6 separate regions of the Homo sapiens genome follow, and all the other regions are linked to region 5. The links are contacts of gene promoters, found by promoter capture Hi-C in blood cells and fetal thymus (Javierre and others, 2016). All regions are on one chromosome and are shown on one strand. The core of a region is centred on a gene start or on the middle of the fragment in contact, and the rest is flanking DNA. Distances in the headings are between cores, read along the strand shown. Region 1 overlaps TRIM63 (tripartite motif containing 63). Region 2 holds the start of ZDHHC18 (zDHHC palmitoyltransferase 18). Region 3 overlaps SLC30A2 (solute carrier family 30 member 2). Region 4 has its middle 11 kb from the start of PDIK1L. Region 5 holds the start of LIN28A (lin-28 RNA binding posttranscriptional regulator A). Region 6 has its middle 7.5 kb from the start of TRIM63.

Region 1 (4,749 bases), core at 896-3,395, 350 kb after region 5:
CTGGTGGCGGGGAATGACCGTGTGCAGACCATCATCACTCAGCTGGAGGATTCCCGTCGAGTGACCAAGGTGAGCGGACAGAATAGTCCTGCCTGGGGATTTGGAGCTTTCCAGGGCAGCCTGGTCTCTGGGGAAGGCTCACCCATAGGTTGTGGCTAAAGGTTGGGGCCCGGAGCCTGGGGCGGTCAAGCAGGGATGGCAGGGGAGGGACTAATCCATTCATCCAGTCTCTCAACAAATGCTTCTTAAGCACAGCTGTGTGTCCGGCCCCACCCAAGATGTGGGGGATGGAGGAGTGAACCAGACAGACGTGGTCCCTGAGCTCAGGGAGTGTCCCATCAATAATTCTCAGTATTTATTCAGCACAAATTGTTTTCAGAGCACAGTTCTTCAGTGTGCTGTAGACCAACACTTCCCAAACTTTGAAGTGCGTGAAAATTACGCTGGGATCATGTTGAAATTCAGGTTTTGATTCAGTTGGTTTGGAATGAGGCATAAGAGCTGCATTTCTAGCCAGTTCCCAGGATTTGCCCAAGCTGCTGGGTCCACAGACCACATGTTGAGTAGTGAGACTGTTGAGGGCAGAAGGGAACTTTTCTATCCCTGAAAAAAGCTTCCACGATTTTCCATGTTCACTTGGGGTAGGGATCTGGAGATGAGATGAGGGGAAGGGGTCATCATAATTGCTAGTGGATGAAGAGTTGGGCGAAGGGTAGGAAGGAGGGGAACATTGTGATCACCCACGAGAGGCTCCCGGTCTGATGAGATGCTATTGTCACACCCATTTTATAGAAAAGAACATAGAGAGAAGGGAGCTTCGGTTGAGGAGGGTGCTAGGAAAGGAGCTGTTTTTCCACCTCTCCTAGGACCAAATGATGCAGAGCTTCCCGAATCCAGTCTTGGTCCTGAAAGGGAGGGAAGAGTGTGAACTGGGACATATGGGAGGCCCAGGAAACGTTAATTTGTTGAAGGTCACACAGCTAAAAGGGAAACACAGCTAAAAGGCAACAGAGAGCTGGGCACAGTGGCTCATGCCTATAATCCCAGCACTTTGGGAGGTCAAGCTGGGTGGATCATGAGGTCAGGAGATCGAGACCATCCTGGCCAACATGGTGAAACCCCATCTCTACTAAAAATACAAAAAAATAGCCAGGCGTGGTAGCGTATCTATAATCCCAGCTACTCGGGAGGCTGAGGCAGGAGAATCGCTTGAACCTGGGAGGTGGAGGTTGCAGTGAGCCAAGATCGCACCACTGCACTCCAGCGGGGGCAACAGAGCGAGACTCCATCTCAAAAAAAAAAAAAAAAAAAGGGCAACAGAGAAAGACAGGGCAGATCCCACATTGGGTGACTGTTGCATTGGTCTAAGAGGTGATGCTCCAATGACCAGCTGAGGTTGGGGGACAGGGGGAGGGTGCAGGAACAAGGAAGAACATGTTGTGTCATGTGACCCTAGAGCCTCTATTTTGGAAGAAGGGGCTAGCTGTTTTTCAAGGCATCATCCTCCAAATATCACTGGCGTACTAAATAGCTGTGAGGCCAGATGAGTGTTTTCTTCTTGTTAAGTCTTTGTTTCTTCTTCTGTAGTGTGGGGATGTATGTAGTGAGATCTCTTCTAGCTTTAGATTCCTTGCTACTGTCCTAGGAAGGCAGTGTAGTGGGCAGGGAATAAAGACCCTACAGAACGTGACCACAAGACTTCCGTCCTCAGGAGAACAGTCACCAGGTAAAGGAAGAGCTGAGCCAGAAGTTTGACACGTTGTATGCCATCCTGGATGAGAAGAAAAGTGAGTTGCTGCAGCGGATCACGCAGGAGCAGGAGAAAAAGCTTAGCTTCATCGAGGCCCTCATCCAGCAGTACCAGGAGCAGCTGGACAAGTCCACAAAGCTGGTGGAAACTGCCATCCAGTCCCTGGACGAGCCTGGGGGAGCCACCTTCCTCTTGGTGAGCAGGACTAGAAGGGTCTGGGTGGGGTCAGTTCAACTCTACAGCTCTAAGGTTCAAGTTATGCTTCCCCACTGACCACCCATGGGCCCTTGGAAAAGCCATTTAAACCTCTGTGAGCCTCAGTTTCCTCATCTGTCAAATGGGCATGTAACACCCCCCACCTTCCTCTTACTGATTTTATGATGATAAGATAAGAGGATGTTTATGAAATGACTTTGTAAGCTGCAAAATACAGTGTCCCATCTACAGACTATTAATTGAGCCCCTACTGTAGGCCAGGCACTGAGGTGGAAGACAAGGAGATAAACCAGACACAGCCCTGCCCTCAAAGAGCTTGTTGGGGAGGACAGAAAAGGCTCAGTTATAAGACTTCATAGTTCAGTTCAATAAAAATGTTCTAGGCTTCTACTGTGGGCCAGGCTTTTTGCTAGACATTAGGTATGAAAAGGTGGTTAGGATTGGGGAGTTCAGGGTTTAGGAGTTTTGGGATTGATACCCCTAGAATCCAAGCTTCCTGTCAAGACAGTGGGTCCTAGGGTGATGACCAAGACCTGTACAGACCACAGACAGAGGGAAAAGTTCCAGATTCTGCTCAGTTTGGGGTGGGGAGCAGGTCACAACTGGGCTAGGGAATGGCACCAAATATCTACCTACAACACCTAGTTCACTAGTTTTGCTGATTTCCTGCGGTTACCTCTTCTGCGGTCCTAATCCTTTGTTCTCTCTCCCCCTGCAGACTGCCAAGCAACTCATCAAAAGGTCAGTGTCTTCCTAGAGGCTATGATCCAAGCACCTAGTTCCCACCAGGACCTCTGTCCAGGAAGCCTCATCCTGGGCATTAGGCCTGCTGGGAGGGTCTCACTCTAGGCTGGCTTCCCTGACCCTTTGCATCCCTGACTTTTTGGACCACTCCTTGTGCTTGAGGTTGGAGAGGAAATACTCCATCCCTCCAGGGGAGCCTCTGGGTAGAAGGCCTGGGCGTGGCAAAGCATGTGCCCTCTCTTCCCTGCACTGAGCCCCAGAGACCTCATCCTGCCTCTCTTTCTGTCTCCCCTGCAGCATTGTGGAAGCTTCCAAGGGCTGCCAGCTGGGGAAGACAGAGCAGGGCTTTGAGAACATGGACTTCTTTACTTTGGATTTAGAGCACATAGCAGACGCCCTGAGAGCCATTGACTTTGGGACAGGTAAAGGAGGTGGTGATGCCACTTGTCTATTTGCCTGCCTGACCCCTGGAAACCAGCATCCCTCCAACTGAGCCCGATGGGGAGGCAGATACACTAATAAAGATCCCCAAATATCAATCAAACTCATATAGCCAACTTCTGGCCGGCTGTGGTGGCTCATGCCTGTAATCCCAGCACTTTGGGAGGCCAAGGTGGGCGGATCACTTGAGGTCAGGAGTTTGAGACCAGCCTGACCAACGTGGTGAAACCTCATCTCTACTAAAAATACAAAAATTAGCCAGGCGTGATGGCATGTGCCTGTAATTCCAGCTACTTGGGAAGCTGAGGCAGGAGAATCACTTGAATCCAGGAGGTAGAGGTTGCAGTGAGCCGAGATTGTGCCACTGCACTCCAGCCTGGGCAAAAGAGCCAGCCAAACTCCATCTCAAAAAAAAAAAAAAAAAAATTCATATAGTCGATTTCTAGATGAGCCCAGAGCCTAGCACAGTGCCTGGTGCAGAATTCCTGCTTCATAAATTACATATGGATCCATGGCAGGGAGGCCTCTTGGGGCAGTAGAAATAATATGCCCTCTGGAATCAGACAGTCCTGAGTTTAAATCCTGGTTCTGTCATTTGTTTATCTGTGTGACCTTTGGCAAGCCCCCTTCTGCCTGAGTTTTATTTTCTAATTTAAAAAGTCAGGTTAGAAGTGAGCCCTCTAATAATGACCAACTCATGGTGCTGTTGCAAAAAATCAGATATCAATGCAGAAAGGTCCTGTAGAGCCCTAAAGATGTACTAGTTATTGCCTAAAGGTAGTCTTAGCTTCAGTTTCTTAATGCTATCACCTATGATACCCAGGCACCTTAATTGATCAACATCATGTCCTCATTTCTGTTTATAATTACTCTTCCATAGAGTGCCTATAATAATTGTAACAATGCAACCGTAACAATAATAAGGGTGAAAATAACAAAGGAAATGAAGAAACTGAATGGAAGCAAATATGTTAATTTGCTAAAGGTCACACAGCTAAAAGGGAAACACAGCTAAAAGGCAACAGAGAAAGAGAGGGCAGATCCCACATTGCTGACTGTTGCGTTGGTCTGAGAGGTGGTGCTCCAATGACCAGCTGAGGTTGGGGGACAAGGGGATGATGAAGGAACAAGGAAGAACTGTAAATGGCTGGCGTGAGAAAGAGAAGAGCTTCTTGGCACCTCCTGTGTCGCTCTCCTACAAACCTTCAGTAGCTGGTGCTAAGTCTGTTTTCAGAGCCCCAGATATACCCCATTCATAGGTAAGGACAAAATACATCCCAAAGCAGAGACACCAATGGCCTTGGGGACATCCACTGCTGTAGTGAGCTGCTCCACTGTCAGCTTCCCTAAGCTAAGATATTCAAGAGTGGGTCAGCCAGGCACAGTGACTCACGTCTGTAATCTCAGCACTTTGGGGGTCCAAGGCAGGTGGATCACCTGAGGTCAGGAGTTCCAGACCAGCCTGACCAACACGGAGAAACCCCGTCTCTACTAAAAATACAAAATTAGCTGGGCATGGTGGTGCATGCCTGTAATCCCAGCTAACTCGGGAGGCTGAAGCAGCAGAATTGCTTGAATCCGGGAGGAGGAGGTTGCAG
Region 2 (4,958 bases), core at 1,668-4,167, 420 kb before region 5:
AATATGTCAGGTGGTGGCAAATGCTTCAGAGAGCGATAAATGAGGGGAGAAGAGAGGTGCAGGAGGGGAGTGGTTTGCTATGCTGTGCGGATGGACAGGGGAGGCCTAATGTGAGAGAGTGAGCCATGAGGCCACCTGCAGGAAGGGGATTCCAAGCACTGGCCCAGAGGTAGGAGTGTGCACGGAGGATGACATGCCTGGAGGGAAGACGGGGACAGAAGACAGCAGGGGACAGAGGCCAGGGAGGATTCAGGCCTGAGTTAGAATCAAAAGGGCACTCTGGCTGTTGTGTGGGGGCGAGAAGTAAGGCAGAAGTTGGGAGCCCTGCTGGAGGCCTGTGCAACAATCCACCAAGCCAAACAAAGAAGCAAAGCCATTCATAGCAGGAAAGGCTTAGAGAGCACCTTACCTTTTCCCAGAGCAATGGGGAGCATCCAGTCCAGACCCAGGTGAGCTCTCGGCCCAAACCCAAACTCTTCTGCCAATCTACCAGCCCCCAATGAGGACAAGCGGGGACAAACTGCAACATGGTTCACGAGCTCTCCCCAAACCCAGAAGTCCTTGCTTTCTCCCTCGCTGGGGACAAAACAGTCACCAGTGAAGATACCCGGTCAACCCAGAGAAGGTCCTGCTTCTAGTTCAGAAGTTAGGCCAGATATCACACTGCAGGGTCATGTGGGTCAACCACGGCAAGTACTGCTTCCTCCTGCCTCGGCTGCAGCCCTGGGTGTGGGGACTGAGAGGGCAGCCCAGGGGATACTAGAAAAGGCATTTCCAAAACACTCATGTGGCCAGCCCAGGGAAGTGGATCTGAAACTCAGCCCAGAGCTGAGCTCTGGGCCCCCCAGAGCTTCTGCTTGTAAATCATCCCTGAACTTTTTATCCACCCTACTCAAAAAAAAGGGCAGAGTGTGTGGTTAAAGGGTAAAGGGAGAAGCTAATTTATAGGAAGTCTTCACCTTGCTTCAAGGGGAAACCCAAAGTTGCAGATACATGATCTGGCAGCTAGAAAGGGTACCTGGGGGCGGGTGTCTCTATGATAGCCTTACCATGGCCACATGCCCTTGGGAAGTGTTTTTTGATAAAGACAACACAAGTACTAATAGCAGCCAACATAGTGTGCTTGTTACTGGGCTAAAAGCTTGCATGTGTGACCTCATGCCACCCTCAGGACAACCTTACGGGGTGGGTACTATTATAAATCCCATTTTACTGATGAGGAAACTGGGGCACTGAGGGGGTGAAGTGACTGCCCTGAGGTCACGCAATTAGTGGGTGGTGGAGCTGGGATTTGAACCAGGTCTGTTAGAGTTCTTAACTACACTGTATAATTAAGAGGAACAACCACAAAGGATGGGGAGTTGGGAGGGGACAGCAGGGCTTATGAAGCAAGGGTGGGTGGGTGGGCGTGTGAGTGTGTGTGCAAGGAATCACAGTGCAGGTGGCTCAGAGGTGGGTGGAAAACTTCTAATACAAATATATGACCCTCCATCCATAAAATGGAGATTATGTGTGGGCCAATCCTGGGTCACCGGGGGATATGAAGAGGACAAAAACCTAGGGGGGCAAATATGACCTGTCACACGAAAGCACTCCGAAGTCTTTCCTGAAAAACAACAAGGCACCGCAGCTGTTGCTGATGTGGAACAGGCCAGAGGGACGTTCCAGAATGTTGAGCAGGGAAAGAAAGCCAGGTGGTCAGCAGGGGGGCCAGGGGCCTGGGAGCCGGCTGGGTGGAGGCGGGCGGGATCTGAGGGAAGGACAGGAAGCTCTGGAGAACCTAAGGAAGGTTCTGGAGAAGGAAAGGGGGCCCGAGAGGCCCAAAGATTTTGAGAAAAGATGCCTTGGGGCCTAGGGTGTGCGTGGCTGAGGGGAAGCAAAAGCGGGGTTGGTGTCTGAGACTAGAGAAAAGGAGGGGACCCTGGAGGGACCCGGAGAGGGCAGCGAGGATGACTAGGATGTTTATGGTGGGTGTGCACAGCCAAAGGACACACAAGATCTAGAAGTGGTCAGGAAGGGATACAAGGGTCAGAAAGAACTTGGGGGGTTGGCAAGAGATGGTCCAGGGATGGGTGAGCAGGAGGGGCCTGTTCAAGAAGCCCTGGGGCAGGTTCTGAGAGGGCAGCGAGGATGGGGGCCGTGGAGGGGCATGGAGGCTGGTGTTCCTGGCAGTGGCAGGCAGACAGGTGCCAGGGTGGGGTCAGGGAGAATGGAGGGGCTGGGAGGGTGGAGGGCACCAGCGCGGATGGGGTACCCAAATGGACCAAGGAGGATGGGGCATCTGGCGGGGATGGGGGTGCGCAGGGGCCAGGGGGGCAGACAAGAGGCCCGAGGAGGATCCCAAAGGGGCGGGGAGGATGAGGACCAGGGAGGCGAAGGGGAAGGCACGGAGTGCCCAGCAGGGATTGGGAAGGTGGGGTGCGCGGCAGGGGGCTGGGAGGGGGCGCCGAGGCAGCGGAACTCACTCAAAGACGAAGAAGAGGCCGGTGGTGGTGAGGATGAGCAGCAGCGTGAGCGCGAAGACGCCGCCGTGGCCGGCCAGCATGAGGCGGCCGCCGCAGTAGAAGCGATTGCGACCCGGGAACACCTCCCACTTGCGCCGTGGGCGGCGGCCGAGGCTCCCGCTCCCGCTGCCGCTGCCGCTGCCGCTGCTGCTCCAGCGCGGCGGGGCGGGGGCGGCGGGCGGCGCGGGCCCGGGGCCCGGAGTCGGGGACGCGGCGGGGCCGGGACGGCGCGCCCCCGGGGAGGCGGGCAGCGGGGCGGCCCCGGGGCTGATCTGCTGGTACTCGCAGTCCTTCATGCAGCCAGCCGCGGGCCTCGGCTCCGCGCCCCGCGGGCCGGCCGGGCCACTCCGGGACCGGGCCGAGCAGCGGAGGTGGCAGCGGCGGCGCGCGCGGCGCTCGCTCGCTCACTCACTGGGGCGGCCCCGCCATCGCTCCGCCCCCGGCCCGCCGCCACCGCCCGCCGCGGCCTCCCGCCGCAGCGCCCCCTCCGCCTGGGCCCGGGATGGCGCTTGGCCGGAGGCCCAGCTCTGACCCGCGGCGGGGCCCCGCAGGTCCCCGGCCCTCCCAGTCTCCCTTTTCCCTTCTGCACAAAGAGGGGGCCAGCAGACGCGCACTCGAGGGCTCTTTCTGTTCTGCAAGCAAGCCGTTTGTTGGGCGTCCACTGTGTACCAGGCACGGTGCCAAACGCCGAGATTCAGGTGGTGGACTTCGTGATCTACTTCTGGCAGTCTGTAATTCCCCAGGCTTCGCCCATCTCTGAGGGTCGAACTGACAGGCATTTGCAGAGGCAGGCAGGCGCGGGGAGGTGGGGCACACGATTTGCTTTGAAAGCCAGGACCTCTTCTACCTTGAAGTCCAGAGTGCCCACTGGAGGTGTGTGGCACACCCTCTGGCCTCGTTCACCAAGTTCTGTGTCCTGGGCCCAGGCCCAGATTTTCCTAGGTAGCACATAATGTAGAGGGGTCATGCCTGAGGGCCCCAGTGTTTTTTCAGGAATTCTGGGAGTATTCATTTTCTACTGCTGTGTAACAAGTTACCACAAATTTAAGGCTTAAAACAAACATTATCGGCCGGGCGCGGTGTCTCACGCCTGTAATCCCAGCACTTTGGGAGGCCGAGGTGGGTGGATCACAAGGTCGAGAGAGACCATCCTGGCCAATATGGTGAAACCCCGTCTCTACTAAAAATAAAAAATTAGCTGGGCATGGTGGCACGGCATCTATAGTCCCAGCTACTCGGGAGGCTGAGGCAGGAGAATTGCTTGAACCCAGGAGGTGGAGGTTGCAGTGAGCCGAGATTGTGCCATTGCACCCGGCCTGGTGACAGAGCAAGACTCCGTCTCAAAAAAAACAAAAAACAAACGTTATCTAACAGGTTCCAGGTCAGGAGCCAGAGAACAGCTTAGCTGGGTCCTCTGCTTAGTCTCACAAGGCTGCAATCAGGCTGCATTCTCATCTGGAGACTCAGCCAGGGAAGAATCCACTTGCAAGCCCATTTGGGTTATTGGCAGAATTAACTTCCTTGCGACTGTTTAACTGAAGAGGGCCTGGGATTTTTGCTGGGTGACTGTATAACTGAGGAGGGCCTGGGATTTTTGCTGGGTGTCTGCTGGAGGCCTCTCTCAGGATCCAAAAGCCACCTGCAGTTCCTAGAGATTATCACATTTCCTTGCCATGCAGGTTTCTCCTACATAGCCACTTAGTTTCTTGAAACTGACAATGAGGGTCTCTAGCTCCAGACTATGATGATAGAGTTTTATATAACTTACTATATATGTGACAGAGTGGCATCCCATCATCATTGCCATCTCCTATGGTTAAAAGCAAAGCACAGGAGCCATCTGCACTCAAGAAAAGGGAATCACACAAGGCGTAAATACCAGGAGGCAGGAATCATTGGGGGTCAGCTTAGGGTATGTCTGTCACACTGTGGTTACTGTAAAACCTAAGGAAAAGTGCAAGGAAAAAAAGAACTGGAGACTAGGAGAAAGTAAAAAAGGAAGTAAAAATATACAATGGGGAGGAGTAGGAAGCCGACAACAGTGACCTTAAGGATCAATAATTGATATATATGCCAAAGGCTGCTCAGCCGTGCCTTTGGTGCCAAAGGCTCTCAATATGATGAGCCCCATCTTGAGCAAACCACATGGTGAGCTTCCTCCCTTTTTGCTCCTTGGCTGTGGAACAAAGTCACAAAACTAGACATACTGGTTCCAGTACAGATTCCTGTTGTCCCACCTTAACTGGGTCCTCTTGCAACCTGAAACCTTTTCTTTTTTCTCGTCACTTTACAGAAACCAAAGCAATCCTACTGGATTTTCAGTTTACCTCCTCTCTATCTCATAATTTCTCTTTATTTGCATCTGTCCTTTCTTCTTTTTTAGAAGATGTGGGCCTCCTTCTGTCCATGGCCAACCCTCCACTCATATCCTTATTTTATTTTATTTTTTATTTT
Region 3 (4,403 bases), core at 1,519-4,018, 370 kb after region 5:
TGATCGTGCCCTGGGTGGGTCCAAGGATTCTCAGGATCTGTTCTTTCCTTCTTTCCATTCAAAAATATATTTATTGGCCAGGTGCGGTGGCTCACACCTGTAATCCCAGCACTGTGGGAGGCCGAGGCAGGCAGATTACCTGAGGTCAGGAGTTCAAGACCAGCCTGGCTAACACAGTGAAACCCTGTCTCTACCAAAAATACAAAAATTAGCCGGGCGTGGTGGCATGCGCCTGTAGTCCCAGCTACTCAGGAGGCTGAGGCAGGATAATTGCTTGAACCAGGGAGGCAGAGGTTGCAGTGAGCCAAGATCACGCCACTGCACTCCAGCCTGGGTGACAGAGCAAGATTCCGTCTCAAAAAAAACCAAAAAATATATTTATTGAGCACCTACTATGGAGTAGGTGCTGTTTTAGGCACCAAGGATACTGTGGTAATCAAAGGAGACTGTCCTGCCCTCATGGAGTGTCCATTTTAGAGGGAGAAACTGACAATAAGTACATTCATAAATAATTTCAGTGTTAAGAGTGGAGAGGAAATACAACAGAGTGATAGGGCAGAGACCTTGGGAGGTGAAGGCAGCCTCAGACCTGCAGGCCAAAGAGGTCTTCTTTGAGGGGATGACACCTGAGGATCAGGAGCCAGCCCTGCACCAATGGGCAGGCGTGGGAGGGGTAGTTTCCTTTAGTTTCCCCTGTCCTTGCCGTCCTCAGGGACCCCCAAGGGCGTTGACTTCACAGCTGTTCGTGATCTGCTGCTGTCGGTGGAGGGGGTAGAAGCCCTGCACAGCCTGCATATCTGGGCACTGACGGTGGCCCAGCCTGTTCTGTCTGTCCACATCGCCATTGGTGAGTGCTTGGGACACTCAGGGTGGGGTGGGAGACAGGCAGCCAAAGGCCTAGTGCCATCCCCAACGGGTCCAGGTGACCCCAGATGCTCACAGTGCCCATGCATCAAGCCCAGCCTCATGCTGAGTACTTGATACGCATTATTCCATCTGATCAGCACAATCTCATTTATCCATGAAGAAACTGAGGCTGGGGTTGGGTGGTAAAGTTACTTGCCCAGGCTTTTACAGCTAGTATATGGCAGTAGGTGGCAGATTCCTGGCCTTAAGGCCAGTGCTTTACCAGCTCTTTCAGGCATGAGCCAGGTCTGGGCTGGGAGGCTACCTGGCAGAGGAATGGAATCTGGGGGCTTCTCCATGTTCATGGTCCCCCATCCTGTTCTGCTGGGGATGGGGTATGAGATTTGGGCTCCTGATGGTTCCAAAGGGCCAGAGTAAATGGCTTCCCCCGCTGTGTCCTCTCGGCCCCCAGCTCAGAATACAGACGCCCAGGCTGTGCTGAAGACAGCCAGCAGCCGCCTCCAAGGGAAGTTCCACTTCCACACCGTGACCATCCAGATCGAGGACTACTCGGAGGACATGAAGGACTGTCAGGCATGCCAGGGCCCCTCAGACTGACTGCTCAGCCAGGCACCAACTGGGGCATGAACAGGACCTGCAGGTGGCTGGACTGAGTGTCCCCCAGGCCCAGCCAGGACTTTGCCTACCCCAGCTGTGTTGTAAACCAGGTCCCCCTCCTGACCTCTGCCCCACTCCAGGAATGGAGCTCTTCCCAGCCTCCCATCTGACTACAGCCAGGGTGGGGACTCAGCGGGTATAAAGCTAGTGTGACCCTGCTCTTCCAGCTCCTGGGCCAGCTCTGGAAGGGCTGTATTTGGGCCTAATCCTCAGCAAATGTTCTACCACTCGCAGGGGCAAAGGTGGTGAGCCACGGGACGTCCAAGGGGAGGCTGGCCCCAGCGCGCCCATACTGCCTGCCTCATGCCCCATTCTCAGCCTGGCTGGCCTTTGCCTTTATGAATCTGAGCCCCTCCATCTGCCTATAGCAATAGGCACGGGGGTGAGGACCCTCACACTCTCATTTGAGCCTCCCTGAGGCAGGGAGCCAGGAGGCACCTGAGGCCTATCTGTGCCTTAGTCACTTCAGCTATGAGCCAAATGTTCCCTTTCCTGGAGGGGAGAGGCTTCTTACTAGGTAAGAGACAGGTTTCCTCTTTCCTTATTTCCTCAGCTGTGCCAACACAAAAAACAACTTTGGCACAGGTGGTGGGCAGGGGGTAGAGAGATTTCAGCTTGGGTTCTGCACTAACAGCCTCCAAGCCCCCTGGCACTTCTGTTGCCCTGAGAGTGTCCCAGGGGATTCAGAGTCTCCAGAAAGATATGGCTGGGCCAACTCTGTTGCCTACCTGGCCTGACCCAGTCGGAGCCTGACATGGTGGAGGGAAAGGGAGACAAGTGGGGCTGCACTCGGTCCAGAGGCCAGCTAGGAGGGAAACCGCAGCTTCCTGGGGCTTGTGTGTGAAGATTCCTGACTTAGGGGTGGCTTTTGTTTACAAGATGCAAGAGGGGAAACCTGTCCCCGACTCATCGAGACAACATGCCCAGTTATCAGGGAGTCCTGTGTCACAAGGTCTGTCTCTGCCATTGTAAGCAAGTGCCTTGGGCGAGCTGGCCTCTGCCCCACAGTCTCATCTGTACACCGACAGGGTTGATGCCTCCCTCACAGGGTTGAGAACAAGAGCCAGTTGGCCAAGTACCTGTGGTTGTTGAAGATTGGTTACTTTTACCATCCTGGGGACAGGGAACTCTGTGGCCCGAGGCTGCCTCACTGAGGAGTCAGGTGGGCTTCCCAGCCTCCCCAGGGGCAGTGCTGAGTTTGTCTTGACTGTTCTGGCCCAAGGTGGGAGGAGGTGGGTTTGGTCACTTGCCTCCCACTTTAAATCTCTGTCTTTCCATCTGTGAAATGACCTCTTTGTGCCTTCCCAGCACTGTCATCCTGATCGCCTGTGTTCTAGGTAGGTGGGTCCTTCAGCCCCTCCAGGTCTGTGAAAAGTCTGTGGAAAGCACTGGCCTGGAGAGGGGTGGGGGGTTGCTGGTGGGTGCTCCATTCCACCACAATCTCAGGGGACTCAACCTCCCCTACCCAACTCCCCACCCCCACCCAAGCCATGGCAGGCCCCAGGAACTTGATCCTGGGCTTTGCCGTATGCCAAGTCCTTACACCCCTCTCAAGAGACAGTCATTGGCTGGGCACGGTGGCTCATGCCTGCAATCCCAGCACCTTGGGAGGCTGAGGCAGGCAGATGACTTGAGGCCAGGAGTTCGAGACCAGCCTGGCCAATATGGCGAAACCTCATTTCTACTAAAAATACAAAAACTAGCCAGGCGTGGTGGCTTGTGCCTGTAATCCCAGCTACTCGGGAGGCTGAGGCAGGAGAATCGCTTGAACCGGGGAGGCAGAGGTTGCAGTGAGCTGAGATCACACCACTGCACTCCAGCCTGGGTGACAGAGCGAGACTCCAGCTTAAAAAAAAAAAAAAAAAAAAAAAAAGGAGACCATCACTGCTGTCCTGCATTCTTACAGATGAAAAAACAGGCTCAGAGGTTGAATCGTTTTCCTGAAGTCAGACAGCCAGTGCAGGCAGGTCTGGGATTTCTGCCTCATTTCGGTAGACCTTCCTCTACAGCAGGGTCTGGGGGCCTGTCGGTCTGCGCTGCCTGTTGGTACAATACAAACCCCTGGGACCAGCAGTGCCCGGCCCATGGGTGAGGACATGCCAAGGCAGTTCAGTGTCCTGGGTGTCACAGCTGTGATTGGAAAGGTGCCTCTTTCACCTGGCTGGGCCTGGCATCCAGCGCCCTCCCCACCCTGGGAAGGCTGCCTGGGCCCCAGCTGTATGCTTTCCCACCCACCCTCAGTTCTTGACTCCGGGCCGGACTGCCTCTCCCCCACCTCTTTAATTTCCAGTCCGCCCTGTACCTCAAGCATCTCACAGCACCACGCCTCCCAAGGGTAACCCACTCTGCCACTCAGCTGTGACTGGCTCTAGGGAGGACCTGAGTCATCCAGGGGCCCGCCGAGGTCAAGCTGGGGGGTGGGGGTGGAAGGCCTTGGAGAGGCCTAAGGGGACAGTATGTTCCTGCCAGTGAGACAGTCACGGGAGTTTCCAGAGCTGCCAGGCCATCAAAGCAGGAAAACACCTGACACCCTGGACCTGGGCTGGACCCACCACCCTCACCCTCTGGAGTCGCACGCGCTCCCAGGCGAGCCCTGAGCCCTGAGCCCCTCCCTCGAGCAGCTGCTGTAAGGGTATTTATAGCCTGGAGCGTGAGGGGGCAAGGACACGCGCTTTATTTCGGAAGTGATAATTCCAGCTCCAGGTGGGTGAACCCCGGAGGACCTAGTGTCCCCCCCCAACTCCATTCTCACCTATACCGCTCGGGACAGTCCCTGCTCGCGCCCAGCCCACCTAGAAACAGTCCCTTCTTGCTGAGTTCCAAGTGTGCAGGCGAAAGAGATGGGGCTGTTCTTCAGATTTCTCTTCCCAGCTTTCAGC
Region 4 (4,779 bases), core at 498-2,997, 310 kb after region 5:
AAGCTTCGGCTTCCTCTGATTCTCTGGCCTCTTCTGGATGCTTCATGTTGCAAGAGCAGAAACTCAACTCAAAGTGACTGAAAGGAATGATTGGTACATTTACCTAAGAGAAATGGAGGTGGGAGGGCTAGCTTCGGGAAGGAAGTTTGATTCAGCAGCTCACATGTCACCAAAGACTCTAGTTTCCTCTGTTCTGCCTCCCATGATGCTGCCTTCATCTTAAGGCTGGCTTCCCTTGTGGGCCTCGGGGTCACCAGTGGGAATTCAGCCTTATGAGATCATATCCTGCAGGAATGAGAAAGTCAACTTCTCTATTCCTCAAACAACATTCCTGAAATTAAGTCTTGTTGGACCTGATTGGCTAGGGGCTAGGGAGTAGGGGGTAAGAGATAGGGTTGTGGGCCCCTCCTTGACCAAGCTCTGTGTCCTGAAGGATGGGGCTTACTGGCAGGCTTAAATTCAGAGGCTGGTGGGTGGCTAACAAATGTCTTGACATATACCCCTCTCTTCAGAAGTCAACTAGTGCCTGGCACATGGTGGCACTTTGTTCGTTAAGTCAACAGCTATTTGGTGAATATCCACCACGTGCAAGAAATTGTGCTTGATGCTGAGAAAAAGCAGTGAACAGAAAGATAAGGTCCCTGCCCTCATGGACTTTCTCTGGGAGGGGAGACAGACATATAAATATGCAGACAGTACAATTCAACCAGTGCCAGCTGAGGTTACATAGCCCAGGGGAGGAAATCCAAACTGTGCTTCTGTGGAGGGGAATGGCGGGCAGGAAAGCTTTAGAGAGGAGGTAGCATTTACACTGGGCCTTAAATTTAGCCATTCCACAATGTATTCATATTTCAAAGCATCATGTTGTACATATGAGTAAATAAATACAATTTTTGTCAATTTAAAAAATAAATAGAAATTTGAGGGTCAGAGTGAGACACTCCTTTAAGCTGACATTCTTCAAATATTTGCTCTATGGTTATTTAGAGCAGGGGCTGGGAAGGAGGCACAGATAACCACACTTAGCCTCTCGATGGTCCTGACCTCCTGGACCCTGGACAAACCTGTAGACTCCACAAGGCCCGCTAATTCATGTAGCTGCGAATATTACTTAGGCTGGCCCCTGACCTCCCAGCCCCAAGCCTTATCCACATTTGTCTTCCAACAGTATACAGAACTCTCCTGGAGAGGAGTGCTAGTGAATGGAATATTCTGCAATGTGTATGGGAGCCAAAGTGCCAGGCACCGTGCTAGGCACTGGGGATGTGGCCATGAAGGAAACATACGGCATACACAATGTGTCTTCGTCTGTTCATGCTGCTATAACAAAATACCTTAGACTGGGTAATTTATAAACAACAGAAATTTACTTCCCCCAGTCCTAGAAGCTGGGAAGACCAAGATCAAGGTGCCAGTAGATTCCATCTCTGGTGAGAGCTGCTGTCTCTGCTTCCAAGATGGTGGCTTGGTGCTGCATCCTCACAAGGCAGAAGTGGAAGGGCAAAAAGGGATGAATAGCTCCCTTGCACCCCTTTTATCTTTTTTTTTTTTTTTTTTTGAGACGGATTCGTGCTCTGTTGCCAAGCTAGAGTGCAGTGGCACAATCTCGGCTCACTGCAACCTCCGCCTCCCAGGTTCAAGTGATTCTCCTGCCTCTGCCTCCTGAGTAGCTGGGACTACATGCACGTGCCACCACACCTGGCTAATTTTTTTTTTTTTTTTTTTTTTTTAGTAGAGACGGAGTTTCACCATGTTGGCCAGGATGGTCTCAATCTATTGACCTCGTGATCTGCCTGCCTTGGCCTCACAAAGTGCTGGGATTACAGGCATGAGCCACCGTGCCCGGCCCCTTGCACGCTTTTTATAAGGTCACTAATCCTACCCATGATGGCTCCACCCTCATGACTTAATCACATACTAAAGGTCCTACCTCTTATCACACTAGCAATTCAGTTTTAACATGAATTTTAGGGGGACACATGGAGACCATAGCGCAGTGCCTGTTCTCATGAAACTTGCCTTCTTATTTACACCCACAATGATCATGGAAAGAGACACATAAATACAGTTCTGGAAAGCGCTATGCAGGAGAAGCTCTAGGGCGCATGAGACTTATTAGGAGGCAGGGAGGAGGGAGGTAGTATGGGCCACGGAAAGCCTCTGAGCATATGACAGAGGCCTTTTTTTTTTTTCTTTTTTTTTTTTGGAGACAGTCCCACTCCGTTCCTCAGGCTGGAGTGCAATAGTGCGATCCCAGCTCACTGTAACCTCTGCCTCCCGGGTCAAGTGATTCTCCTGCCTCAGCCTCACAGACAGCTTGGGACTACAGGCACACACCACCACTCCTGGCTAATTTTTTGTATTTTTAGTAGAGACGGGGTTTCGCCATGTTGGCCAGGCTGGTCTTGAACTCCTGGCCTCGAACTCCTGGCCTCAAGTGATCTGCCCGCCTCAGCCTCCCAAAGTGCTGAGATTACAGGCGTGAGGCAATGCACCCAGCCACATGTGACACTTATGCTAAGAAATGACCGAGGGGCAGAAATGAGCTAAGTGAGAAGCGGAGGGAGGAGCATGCTTGGCATTCAGGACGGCCGGTACCAGCTGCTCTATGCAGGCCTCAGCTGGAAGTTTAAATCAAGAGCTGGGGGGAAACGATGGGGAGAGGAAGATACTAGGAAGCTCCATTGTGGGTATAAATACAAGCTTTTGCTTCCAAAGCCCAACTTTATCAGTAATAAGGCCCATATTTTTATCTCTCCATTGCCTTGATTGCCATTGGGATTTCCTAATAGGTCCAGATCCCAACTGGAGGGGGAATAAGTTGTAAGGTTTAGCCTTAAAACCCCTACACAAGCAGGGGTGATATCCTGTAGGGTCTTGTAGATCATGTTATGGATTTGGGCATAAAAGCAACAGGTCAGCAAGGGTCTATTTTTTTTTTAATTGTGGTAAAATAGAGGTAACATAAAATTTGCTGATTTAATCATTTTAACTGTATAGTTCAACGGCATTAAGTACATTTATATTGTTGTGCAACCATCACCACCATCCAGAACTTTTATTTTTATTATTATTGTTTGAGATGAAGTCTTGTTCTGTCTCCCAGGCTGGAGGGCAATGGTGTGATCTCAGCTCACTGCAACCCCCACCTGCCGGTTCACACAATCTTCCCGCCTCAGCCTCCCAAGTAGCTGGGACTATAGGCATGTGCCACCATGTCTGGCTAATTTTTGTATTTTTAGTAGAGACAAGGTCTCACCATGTTGGCCAGGCTGGTCTCGAACTCCTGACCTCAAGTGATCCACCTGCCTCAGCCTCCCAGAATGCTGGGATTACAGGTGTGAACCATCCAGCCCGGACATTCGGGGTTTTTTTATCATCCCAAACTGCAACTCTGTATCCATTAAACAATAACTCTCCATTCCTTCTCTTCCCAGCCCCTGGTAACTGGATAACCACTATTTTACTTTTTTTTTTTTAAGACAGAGTTTCACTCTTTTCTCCCAGGCTGGAGTGCAATGGCGCAATCTCAGCTCACTGCAACCTCCACCTCCCAGGTTCAAGCGACTCTCCTGCCTCAGCCTCCCAAGTAGCTGGGATTATATGTGCCTGCCACCACACCTGGCTAATTTTTTGTATTTTTTGTAGAGATGGGGTTTCACCATGTTGGCCAGGCTGGTCTCGAACTCCTGACCTCAGGTAGATCTGCTAGCCTCGGCCTCCCATAGTGCTGGGATTACAGACATGAGCCACCGCACCCAGCCTCTACTTTCTGTCTCTATAATTTGACTATTCTAGGTACCTCATATGAATAGAATAATTCAGTATTTATTTTTTTGTGTCTGGCTTATTTCACTTAGTGTAAGGTCTCCAAGTTTCACCCATGTTGTAGCATGTGTCAGAATTTCATTCCTCTTTAAGGCTGAACAATATTCCGTTTTGTGTATATACTATATTTTGTTCATCTGTCAACCTGTCAATCACCAAAGAGTTTTAAGTAAAGATTTTATTTATTTTATTTTTATTTTTTTTTGAGGTAGGGTCTTGCTCTTTGCCCAGGCTGTAGTACAGTGACACGATCGCAGTCCACTGCAGCCTTGACTTCCTGGGCTCAAGCGATCCTCCCATCTCAGCTTCCCAAGTAGCTGAGACCACAGGTGCATGCAACCATACCCAGCTAATTATTTGTTTATTTACTTATGTGGAGACATAGTCTTGCTATGTTGCCCAAGCTAAACTTGAACTCCTGGCCTCAAGTGATCCTCCTGCCTTGGCCTCCCAAAGTGTTGGGATTGTAGTTATGAGCCAACACATTCAACTAAGTAGAGACTTTAAACACGCTCATATGTCCAGTTTAAAAGATCACTCTAGGCTGGGTGAGGCGGCTCACACCTGTAATTCCAGCACTTTAGGAGGCCAAGGCAGACAGATCATTTGAGGTCAGGAGTTTGAGACCAGCCTGGCCAACATGGTGAAACTCTGTCTCTACTAAAAGTACAAAAATTAGTCAGGCATGGTGGCACATGCCTGTAATTCCATCTACTCAGGAGGCTGAGGCATGAGAATCACTTGAACCCGAGAGATGGAGATTGCAGTGAGCCGAGATTGTGCCACTGCACTCCAGCCTGGGCAATAGAGTGAAACTCAGTCTCAAAAAACAAAAACAAAAAAAGATCACTCTAGCTGGCAGATGGAGACTGGATCAAGAGTGGGCAAGAGGGCAAGGAGAGATGAATTGCAAAGGTTTAGGCAAGAGATGATAGTGGTCTGGACCAGGCT
Region 5 (5,040 bases), core at 709-3,208:
TCCATCCAGCATCTCCCTTCTCTACCCCTCCCCCAAAGAATGCCATCCCTTCAGGCTCCAACCCTTAATCCCCACATCCTCCTTTCCCCTCCCCCACACCTCCTAAAGCCAACCTCCCTTAAGTAACCCCTCCCTGCCCGGCCTGGGTGTCAACCTACACGATCTGGGATTAGCAATTTCTTCTTTCCAGATCCAGTCCCAAACCTCCAAAGATGGAAGGGCCATAGGCAGCAAGCAACTTCCTTTCCATGGTCTTTATGGGTAGCTGGTGGCCCAGGACCACCGGAATGCCTCTAGGATATTCAGGAAGGGGAAGCCTGGGAGGAGGGAGACCTGAAGTCTCTGGCTCCTTGTTTGAGGCCAGGAATGTTAAGACAGCAATCAATGGCTGTCTGGGGCCATAAATGCCAAGCGGAGAATAGGACCAGAGGCCAGCCTCCCTTCACCCCCTGCCCTGCGACACTGAATTTCACCCCCTACTGTGCTGCCCTGCTTTAACTGAGAACTTGGGGTTGCGACCTACCGACTTCCCTCCCAGCCTGGCCCAGGAATGTAAGGAAGGCCTGGGCTCTTTGGGTTTTCCTTCCTCACGGGAACTGGACAGCAAAGACCCCAGTCCTGAGCTTTCAAGCCCCCACAGGGATCCTTCAGGGATCTGCCAAACCCAGTTTTTAGTGACCAGCCAGGTGAGGTCTGCATTAAAAAGGGGATGAGGCTGACTTCTCGGCTTTACGCCCCTTGGGTCCAGTAGCCAGTTGCCCTCACTCTCTCCCGCCTTCTGAGCTCCATTCAGACGTTGGAGGAGCTGGGCTCCCGGCTTAGGCCCGGCATGTGCTTCCCTGGCCGGCCTGCTCGCCCTCCCCCCACCGGCAAGCACAATACAACCTTAGTTTCTGCCACATGGGGTCACCTCCCTGCCCCCTGCCCCTTCCCAGGGGAAAGAGGTAATAGACACGTGGTAAGCCGGAGGGGTTCCCGGAAGGGGGCGGGGGTGCTGATAATTGGTGCTGCCTCCCACTACTCCCCCACGAGATAGTTAACAGGGACTCAGAATTGGGGTGCCGAAGCAAAGACAGGGATGCATAATGAGGGCTCCCGATGGCCCTCAATTCAACTGCGAGCCCGGAGCCCACCCGTGGATATGGGCGCCTAGACGCCCTTCCCTGGGCAAAGTTACCGGAATCAGTCTCACCTGGTGCACAAAGACATCCACTGGGGGGTCGAGCGCGACCCCGGCGCGGGCGGTCATGGACAGGAAGCCGAACCCCATGCGCACGTTGAACCACTTACAGATGCCCGCACCGTGCAGCAGCTGAGGCTCGTCCGCCGCCCGGGCCGCGTCCTCCGGCGCCTCCTCGGGCGCCTCTTCTGCCGCCTTGGCGCAGCCACCTGGAGAGAGGGAGGGCCGGGCACTTAGCTGGGGGGCACGGAATCGGAGGGCCGTCTCGGGCCCCAGGCAGGGAGACCCGAGTATCCAGCCCCACAAGTGGACAGCCAGGAGGGGGCAGCTACCAAGCAACAGAAGAGAAGAAACCTATCCCGGTCGCCTCCCGCGTTCCCCTAGCGTACACCGGGACAGTAGTGCCCCGAAAGTTTTGCTCCTCTTCCCACAACGCGTTTCCCAGAGACTCACGGCGGGACAAGCCTCTCCTCTCCATCCACCCACGTAGTCTGGCGCGCACGCCACTGGGACACCAAGGTTCCTGGCCCCAGAGACGGCCCTATGAAGCAGAAGGCCGCACCGTCTTGGGGTCCTTTGGGCAGCCTAGGACTCAGTTCCCCACCTCCCTTCTACGTGGCTCCTGGCCGCCCCTGAATCCTAAAGTGTCCCCGCTAAGTCCCGAGCTCGAACCTGCAAACTGCTGGTTGGACACGGAGCCCATGGTCGTCGGCTGAGCCCGTGGCCCCGGGCCCCTGGTCGGGCGGCTGCTGGCCCCGGAGAAGTCCGAAGGCAAAGGGTTGGTTCGGAGAAGAAGCTGCTACATCTTCCCCCGCACAATAGCGGTGGGAGGGCCCACGGCTTTTCAAAGGCTCCCAAATTCTAAAAGACAATGACCCAACCCCCCGCGGGCAGCCCCCTCCCCTCCCCTCCCTCTCCTTTCCCCTCCCTTTCCCTCCGGCTCCAGCTCCGGCCCTCCCCCACAACTCCGGTCTCTGACACCTCTGGGGTGTCCCTTCTCAGAACCTTGAGGTTTGACACCCCCTCCCCACACGCACAACTGGAGATGGGTCTGTCTGCCCTAGAAGACTTGAGTACCCCGGAATTTGAGATCCTGCACTTTGGACTCAGTAGGGGTCCCCAAAGCAGATACAGGTGGGGGACCTGGTGGGGGGGGTAGTTTTAAAACCACGTGACTGCACACACACACACACACACACACACACACACACACACACCACCCCCACCCCCCGGGCAGATAATTATACATTCCAGAGAGTTGGGGGAGGGAGGTGTGAGCCTGGCGGCGCTGGCCAATCAGAAACACAAACCACCTGTCAAGGGAGAAATGAATGGGCCCTCCCCCTCCCCCAGCCCTTGAGCTCCCCTCCCCCTCTCTTCCCCCTCAGGCCTCTGAGCTGACCCGGCTGCTTGGAGCTGACCCGCTCTCACCCCCCACCCCCGTGTGCTTAGATAGACCTGGAGTTCTGGACACTGGGAAGCCCGGGATGGGGGAGCAGGGGAGAGGCTGGGGACACACAGGGCTGATCTGTCCTGACCAAAGCGCTGCCTTCCAAAGTCTGTCTGCCTCTGACTACATCTGAATGTCTGCCTCCCAGAGTTTCTGACTCAGAGTTTTTCTGGGCCTCCCCCAGTTAGAAAAGAGAAAGTGCTCTTAATTGATTCGTTGTAAAGAATTCTTCCTTCTTTCCTCCCTCCAAACCTGTGTGTCTAAAGTTAGCCCCAGGTAAGCTCCCTGGAGAGCAGGAGGAACCCAAAGAGTCTTGAAGCTGTTTCTCCACCAGCTGCCTTCTCGTCCTACCCCCACCCCATCCCCATCCACTGCTGAGAGAGGGACTGGGTGGGCTGGTGGGTAGAGGTACTTCCTCTCTACTCTTCACACTCTTAGATTCCTAGGCCCTCCTTGTTTCAGAGTAACCACCCTAAAATGCGCTCCCATTCCGTAGTGGGGCTGGTGGAGGAACAGGACTGGGGGGCCTCCTCATTTGAAGAGGTAACCTCCCCTTCTAGGAGATAAAGACGGCTGGCTAGTGGGGGTGGCTACTGCCCTGGTCGGAGATGGACAATGGCCCGGGGCTCAGTGCACGGCCCTGGCCCTGCCCCTTCACTTCCGGTGTTCAGTTCAAACTGGACAATGCCAGCTCCGGCCAGTTCCCCTCCCCCACCACTACAACCCATTTAAAGGGACAGAGCCTGCTTTCGGGGGCATCCGCTTGCTCTGAATTCAATCTTCTCCACCGAGTGTGCAGAACCTTTTGGAATTCTCACGCTGTGGCTCTGTGTGTGTGTTTGTGTGTGTGTGTGTGTGCACGTGCGGATGTGGGCACATGTGTATTTCAGAGAGACCGGATGAGTGGGGGTAGGGAAGGGGAAGATGGGGAGGAAAGCAAGAGACTGCAGAAGTTATTTCCCTTTCTCTCGTACGGGGTGCTCTCCAAGAAATGAAAACTTGAGCGTAAGGAATGGGAGGTGGGACTTCGTGGGGTAAAAAGGACAAGAGTGGCCCTTTGCTGCTCCGCCTAAAAAATACATATCGTTAACAAATATTATTAGCAGTGCCCCACTCCCATCTGAGGACTCTAATTTAGAATTATCAAGAGTTCTCCTAGTACATCAGCCAAAGCCATTTTTATTTACATAATTCTCCTCTCCCAAAAGTCTTATCTCCCGCTGTTAGTGGCGCCCTTAAAATATATTCGCTCCGTGTACCTCTGTTCCTAAGACTCAGGAGCAAGTGGCTGAGGTCTGGCTGAAGAAAAGGGAGGGAAAGGGGAGTTGAACGCTCTGGCTTCTCTAGGTGGGTTCTCAAGTGATGCGAATTCGGTTCCCCGGGAATGCGCGGCCTGCTTCTCTGTCCAGGGTCCTGAGGGCTCCAGCAGCTCTGTCCACGGTGCTGAATTGAGTCACGCTGTCTTGATTCCCAGCTCACAGTTTTGAGAATAACTTCTTGAGTTCCCACCTCCAAGTCTTTCCCAGAAAACCTGATTTTCCTCAATGCCGGTTCCCGCTGTGGTAACACTGACACATTTCAGATGAATGAAGACACTTTTTTTGGGGGACGGAGTCTTGCTGTGTTACCCAGGCTGGAGTGCAGTGGCACGATATCTGCTCACTGCAACGTCTGCCTCCTGGGTTCAAGCAATTCTCGTGCCTCAGCCTCCCGAGTAGCTGGGATTACAGGCACATGCTACCACGCCCGTCCAATTTTTGTATTTTTATAGAGACGGGGTTTACCATGTTGGCCAGGCTGGTCTTGAACTCCTGACCTCAAGTGATCCGCCCGCCTGGGCCTCCCAAAGTGCTGGGATTATAGGTGTGAGTCACCGCACCCGGCCTAAGATACTTTTTTTGAATGCTAAAGAAATGGCACTTTCGACCGGGCGTGGTGGCTCACGCCTGTAATCCCAGCATTTTGGGGGGTCAAGGTGGGAGGATTGCTTGAGGACAGGAGTTTGAGACCAGCCTGGGCAACATGACGAAACCCCATCTCTAAAAAAAATACAAAAATTAACCGGATGTGGTGGCGCATGCCAGCTACTTGAGAGGCTGAGGTGGGAGGATCACTTGAGCCCAGGAGGCCGAGGTTGCAGTGAGGAGATAGTGCCATTGCACTCCAGCGTGGGTGACAGACTCACCCAGGCCTTGTCTCAAAGAGAGAGAGAGAGAGATTCCCAGTAGTATATGATTTTGTGAGAGAGATGCAGGTATCTCAAACTCCTCTTCAGAAAAATGGGAAACCTACTTCCCATAATATGGCTGTAAAGGGTTAGGAAAGAAGAGATAATATTTTTTGAGTCAAAGAAGACCAAAGTAGAAGAAAAACTAATCTCTGTTTTTAATTTTCTTTTCTTTTTCTTTTC
Region 6 (5,041 bases), core at 28-2,527, 330 kb after region 5:
AGACTGTGATAGCCTCCAAGATACAGCTCAATAATTCTTGCCTCCTGGTAATCAGGTCCTGTGCAGTTGCCTCCCGTACTGTATCAGGGTTGGTCTGTGTGTCCAGTAGAATACAATGGAAATGATAGTGTGTGACTTCTGGGGCTAGGTCATAAAAGATAGTACCACTTTTGTCTTGCTCTTTTGGATCACTTGCCCTGGGGGAAGCCAGTGCCATGTTATAAGGATGCTCAAGCAGCCCTATGGAGAGGTATGTGTACTGAGGAACTGAGGCCTCCCACCAATTTGCCAACCATGAGTGTGCCATCTTGGTAGTGGATCCTCCAGCTCCAGTCAAGCATTCTGCTAAACTCAACTGCAGCCCCAGCCTATATATATATATATATATATATATATATATATATTTTTTTTTTTTTTTTTTTTTTTTTTTTTTTTTTTGAGACAGAGTCTCACTGTGTTGCCCAGGCTGGAGTGGCACTATCACAGCTTGCTGCAGTTTTGACCTCCTGGGCTCAAGCAATCCTCCTACCTTAGCCTCTTGAGTAGCTAGGACTACAGGCACGCAAAACCATGCCCAGGTAATTTTTTTTTTTTTTTGTAGAGACAAGGTCTCCTTGTGTTGCCCACGCAGGTCCCAAACTCTTGGATCAAGCAATCCTCCTGCCTCAGCCTCCCAAACTGTTGGGATTACAGGCGTGAGCCACCGCGCCCAGCCCCAGCCAACATCTTGACTACAACCTCCTTAGAGACCAGATCCAGAACCACCCAGCTTAGCTGCTCTTGAATTCCTGACCCATAGAAACTGTATGAGATAATAAATGTTTACTATTGTCTTAAGCTGCTACATTTTGGGATAATTTGTTATGCAACAACAGATGGTACGCAAGCCATGGGGTTACCCATACTAACTGTTCAGTAAATGCTAACCCGTGTTATTCCCAACTGTGATAATGTTAACAGCGTTTGTTAAGTGTCTGCCATGTGTCAAACGTGTGCTACGTGCCTGTGCAAATGGACTCCCACTTCTGTGCCATCAGTTTTCAGCAAGGCATAGAATGCTGGGGGAGGATAGTCACTAGGAACCCTTGACTCTCAGGATTAGAAATGCCCACAGACATCATTACTCTACCCAATTGTCATTTCATAGATGAGGAAACTCACACACACAGGTCACGTAACCTGCCCAAGATAAAAGAGCTGATATGTGAAGAAGTCAAAACTTGAACTCAGATCCATCCGTCCTGGGGCAGCCTCTTTGTTGCTCTGCACTCTTAGGTTCTTATAGTAAGGATTTATTGCATTTCACAGTTTATATGTTGCACAGTTTATAAAGCACTTTCAATACTTCATTTCAGGATCATCAGTGCAGAGCCCCCTCCTGACCCTACTTGCCTCCATTTGCCCTGGGGCAGTCCCTTTCTCTAAAGACCACCCACTCCCCAGAGCCTTTGTAGCTGTCCACAAGCATTATCTGGTCCTGGGGACAGTGGGAGGAGGCCTGTGTGGCTCCCAGCCCAGGCCATGAGTGAGTAGGTCCTGGGACATTCTGCTCCCCTTCTGTGGCATGCAGGCCAGGCCCAGTGGACTTTGCCCTGGCACTGAGGGCACTGCTTCATGTCCCAGACCCCATAGACCTGCCTCTGCCAACTGCTCCAGCTTTAGCCACTAGATCAAATGACCCATTGGTTTGATCCTGTGATTTGGGATGATTCTTCAATGAGGATGACATCAAAGCATGTGATACGGATCTTAAACCATAAGAAAAAAACAGTCCCTGTGCCACGCCTGTTCCACTTCCTGAGGGTGCTCCAAGCAGAGGCTTGAGGGGAAATGCAGAGCAAGGCAGGGCAGACCTCACACTCCTAGGGAGGAAATGAGGGAGAACAGGTACACACATGTGAAAAAGATCTGCTCCATGATGTACCAGGGAAGCACTTCCACAAGCCTGAACTATGTGGACATGAAAGGGGAGATGGACAGTTGTTTCCTCTCCAGCATCACCACCCCTTGGGCCTGTGTCATCACCGGAGCACTCCTCTGAGAACTTGGCCACTGGGGATGTGGAAGGACCATTCAGGATCATCTCCTGTAGATGCTCCATTTGGCAGATGAAGAAACTGAGGGTGGGTATGGTTTGCAGGGCATCACATTTCAGGTCTCCAACAGAGATGGAGATGGAACCCAGGTGTCTGGGCCCTAGGCCAGGGTTTTCTCCTCTGAACCAAGAGGCATCAAAAAAATCTCAGATCTCTGAAAAGTTCCCTTTCTAGAGACAATTAAAAAAAAAACAAAAACATAGGCTGGTAACGATGGCTCATGCCTGTAATCCCAGCACTTTGGGAGGCTGGGGCAGGCAGATCACCTGAGGTCAGGATTTAGAGACTGGCCAACATGGTGAAAACCCATCTCTACTAAAAATACAACAAATTAGCCAGGCGTGGTGGTGGGCACCTGTAATCTCATCTACTCGGGAGGCTGAGGCATGAGAATCGCTTGAACCCAGGAGGTGGAGGGTGCAGTGAGCTGAGATAGCGCCACTGCACTCCAGCCTGAGTGACAGACAGCAAGACTCTGTCTAAAAAAAGAAAAAGAAAAAGCATAGACTTTGAGGGTTAAACAGGCCTGTTGCAGCTTTGCCTACATGAGCTGTGGGTCTTGGGGCAACTCCATACCCTAAACTGTGCCTCATCTGTGAAATGAGGACAATAAGTATGACATGTATACTTGAAAATTGCTAAGAGAGTAGATTTTAAGTGTTCCCACCATGAAACAATAAGTATGTGAGGTCATGCATATGTTAAATAGCTTGATTTAGCCATTCCACAATATATACATATATCAAAACATCATGTGGTACACCATAAATATATGCAATTTTTACTTGTCGATTAAAAAAATTTAAGGATAACCTATTTATAGTTGTTGTGAGGACTGAATAAAATAGTGCCTCAAAACTCTTTGTAGATGCCCAGCCACTTGCAAGCACTGAAATCAATAAAACACAGCATTATAATTGCTATTACCCTCTACCTCCCCTTTTTCCTTGCCAGGCCTAGACCATTCTCCCTGATGCCTTGCCTGTCTTCTACCCAGCTGGGACCCTCTTGGGCACTACAGCTTCCTACACTCATGACACAGACTTTGGGAGCAATTCTAAATGACAGGTCTGTTGCTTAGCTGGGTGACTTTCTACAAGTCACTTAAGCTTCAGTGCCTGATATATAAAAATGAGAATCATAATACCCAGAATAATTCTCTGATAAATCAATGGCACAGAAGAATGAGAGGGATGACAGTTGTTACAGTTTAAAAGAGATCCATGAGACAAAAACAACAGAGGTCTCAGCCTGAGTAACGGAGTGAGACCCTGTCTCAGAAAAAAAAAAACTTTAATTATTGTTTGTTAACATAATGGCATGGTGATTATGTAACAAAAATCCTTATCTATGAGAAATGCATATTGGAGTATTTATGGGTGAAATGACTTAATGTCTAACATTTTCTTTAAAATATTTTAGAAAAGGCTGGGCACGGAGGCTGAGGCAGAGAATTGCTTGAACCCAGGAGGTGGAGGTTGCAGTGAGCCAAGATTGCACCACTTCAGCCAGCCTGGACAACAGAGTGAGACTCCTTCTGAGAAAAGAAAAGAAAAGAAAAAATAAGAAAAGAAAAGAGGCTGGGTGCAGTGGTTCACGCCTGTAATCCCAGCACTTTGGGAAACCAAAGTGGGAGGATCACCTGAGGTCAAGAGTTTGAGACCAGCCTGGCCAACATAGTGAAACCTTGTCTCTACTAAAAGTAAAAACAAAATTAGCTGGGCGTGATGGCGAGTGCCTGTAATCCCAGTTACTCGGGAGGCTGAGGCAGAAGAATCGCTTGAACCTGGGAGGTGGAGGTTGCAGTGAGCCAAGATCACGCCACTGCACTCCAGGCTGGACAATAGAGTGAGACTTTGTTTCAAAAAAAAAAATTTAGACAAAAGAAGCGTGGGCCAGGCACGGTAGCTCACGTCTGTAATCCCAGTAGCTTGGGAGGCTGAGGTGGGCTGATCACTTGAGGTCAGGAGTTCGAGACCAGCCTGGCCAACATGGTGAAACCCCGTCTCTACTAAAAATACAAAAATTAGCCGGGTATTGTGGCATGCGCCTGTAATCCCAGCTACTCGGGAGGCTGAGGCAGGAGAATTGCTTGAACCCGGGAGGCAGAGGTTGCAGTGAGCCAAGATCGCACCAATGCACCCCAGCTTGCGCAACAAGAGCGAAACTCCGTCTCAAAAAAAAAAGAAAGAAAAGATAAAAGAAGTGTATGGGAATATTGGGGCAATGATTAACGAGTTAAGCTGGGTTTGATTACGTGAGCCCATTATACTGTTCTCTCTAGTTTTGTGTGTTTGAAACTTTCATTCATAAGGAATAAAAATAAATGAAGTGACTTGCAGAGAGGGAGGCAGTAAATATAGTGGTTAAGAGCTCTGGGTCCAGACACCCACTGGTGTTCCGTAATTGTCTCTTCATCTGCCAGTACTATAGTGTTACGGTATGTTCTCATAACTGTAATGATGCTGGTTTATAACTTCCTGATTCTGATGCTGGCTCTGCTACCCACTGCTGGGGGACTTTGTCTGTGTGACTTATCCTCACTGAGCCTCTGAAGCTCACCTGCAAAACAGGGAAAATTATGATCCCTGCTGTACCAAGTTATTTGGAGGACTGAACGGGAGGATGGATGGAAAGGACTTAGCACAATGCCTGAACATAATAAGCGCTCAGTAAATCCTCCAGTGAGGGGAGCACAGGTTGAAGAATCAGGCTGCCGTGGATATGAACCCCAGCTCGGCTCTGCCACTTGTGGCTGTGTGACTCTGGCCAAGCCAATTAACTCTCTGAGCCTCATTTCCTCCTGGGAAAAAACCCGAAGATCATAAAACCTCCCCTGCAGGACTATGGTGAGGATTAAATGACATGTTTTGATGTCCAGCACAGCCCACGTGGGAATTTCCCTTCCTCACCCCTTGACTTTCAGCAGCACTGGCCTTGCCAGC

What was found. The method cuts DNA at HindIII sites, captures the fragments that hold promoters and counts their contacts. A CHiCAGO score of 5 or more calls a contact.
Region 1: a contact is called between a fragment that was not itself captured here and the fragment with the promoter of LIN28A in region 5, in 4 of 17 cell types (M2 macrophages, M0 macrophages, M1 macrophages and 1 more). The highest score is 11.4, in M2 macrophages.
Region 2: a contact is called between the fragment with the promoter of ZDHHC18 here and the fragment with the promoter of LIN28A in region 5, in 1 of 17 cell types (fetal thymus). The highest score is 6.4, in fetal thymus.
Region 3: a contact is called between a fragment that was not itself captured here and the fragment with the promoter of LIN28A in region 5, in 2 of 17 cell types (M2 macrophages and M0 macrophages). The highest score is 5.8, in M2 macrophages.
Region 4: a contact is called between a fragment that was not itself captured here and the fragment with the promoter of LIN28A in region 5, in 6 of 17 cell types (M2 macrophages, M1 macrophages, M0 macrophages and 3 more). The highest score is 11.7, in M2 macrophages.
Region 6: a contact is called between a fragment that was not itself captured here and the fragment with the promoter of LIN28A in region 5, in 1 of 17 cell types (M2 macrophages). The highest score is 6.3, in M2 macrophages.

What each region holds. Positions count from the first base shown.
Region 1 is chr1:26,055,586-26,060,334 of GRCh38, reverse strand. It overlaps TRIM63 (tripartite motif containing 63), which reads left to right. Exons shown (of 9, transcript NM_032588.4): 4 at 1-69; 5 at 1,712-1,945; 6 at 2,685-2,707; 7 at 3,008-3,132. Among named protein-coding and RNA genes, the nearest start is that of TRIM63, 9.7 kb to the left of the region's middle. The HindIII fragment of the contact is 630 bases long and covers 1,831-2,460 here.
Region 2 is chr1:26,824,647-26,829,604 of GRCh38, reverse strand. ZDHHC18 (zDHHC palmitoyltransferase 18) reads right to left here and starts at 2,917. Exons shown (of 8, transcript NM_032283.3): 1 at 2,466-2,917. The coding sequence starts at 2,800. RefSeq lists silencers at 2,650-2,859, 2,870-3,019, 2,983-3,135. The HindIII fragment of the contact is 7,154 bases long and covers 1,144-4,958 here.
Region 3 is chr1:26,036,221-26,040,623 of GRCh38, reverse strand. It overlaps SLC30A2 (solute carrier family 30 member 2), which reads left to right. Exons shown (of 8, transcript NM_001004434.3): 7 at 713-847; 8 at 1,319-3,372. The coding sequence ends at 1,464. It overlaps EXTL1 (exostosin like glycosyltransferase 1), which reads right to left. Exons shown (of 11, transcript NM_004455.3): 11 at 4,160-4,403. Among named protein-coding and RNA genes, the nearest start is that of SLC30A2, 7.7 kb to the left of the region's middle. RefSeq lists an enhancer at 4,311-4,403. The HindIII fragment of the contact is 8,648 bases long and covers 1-4,403 here.
Region 4 is chr1:26,098,174-26,102,952 of GRCh38, reverse strand. No RefSeq gene overlaps it. Among named protein-coding and RNA genes, the nearest start is that of PDIK1L, 11 kb to the left of the region's middle. RefSeq lists an enhancer at 4,701-4,779. The HindIII fragment of the contact is 1,917 bases long and covers 789-2,705 here.
Region 5 is chr1:26,407,735-26,412,774 of GRCh38, reverse strand. It overlaps LIN28A (lin-28 RNA binding posttranscriptional regulator A), which reads right to left and starts at 1,958. Exons shown (of 4, transcript NM_024674.6): 1 at 1,853-1,958; 2 at 1,193-1,389. The coding sequence starts at 1,883. RefSeq lists enhancers at 2,692-3,249, 3,250-3,809. The HindIII fragment of the contact is 9,111 bases long and covers 1-5,040 here.
Region 6 is chr1:26,072,565-26,077,605 of GRCh38, reverse strand. No RefSeq gene overlaps it. Among named protein-coding and RNA genes, the nearest start is that of TRIM63, 7.5 kb to the right of the region's middle. The HindIII fragment of the contact is 3,860 bases long and covers 1-3,207 here.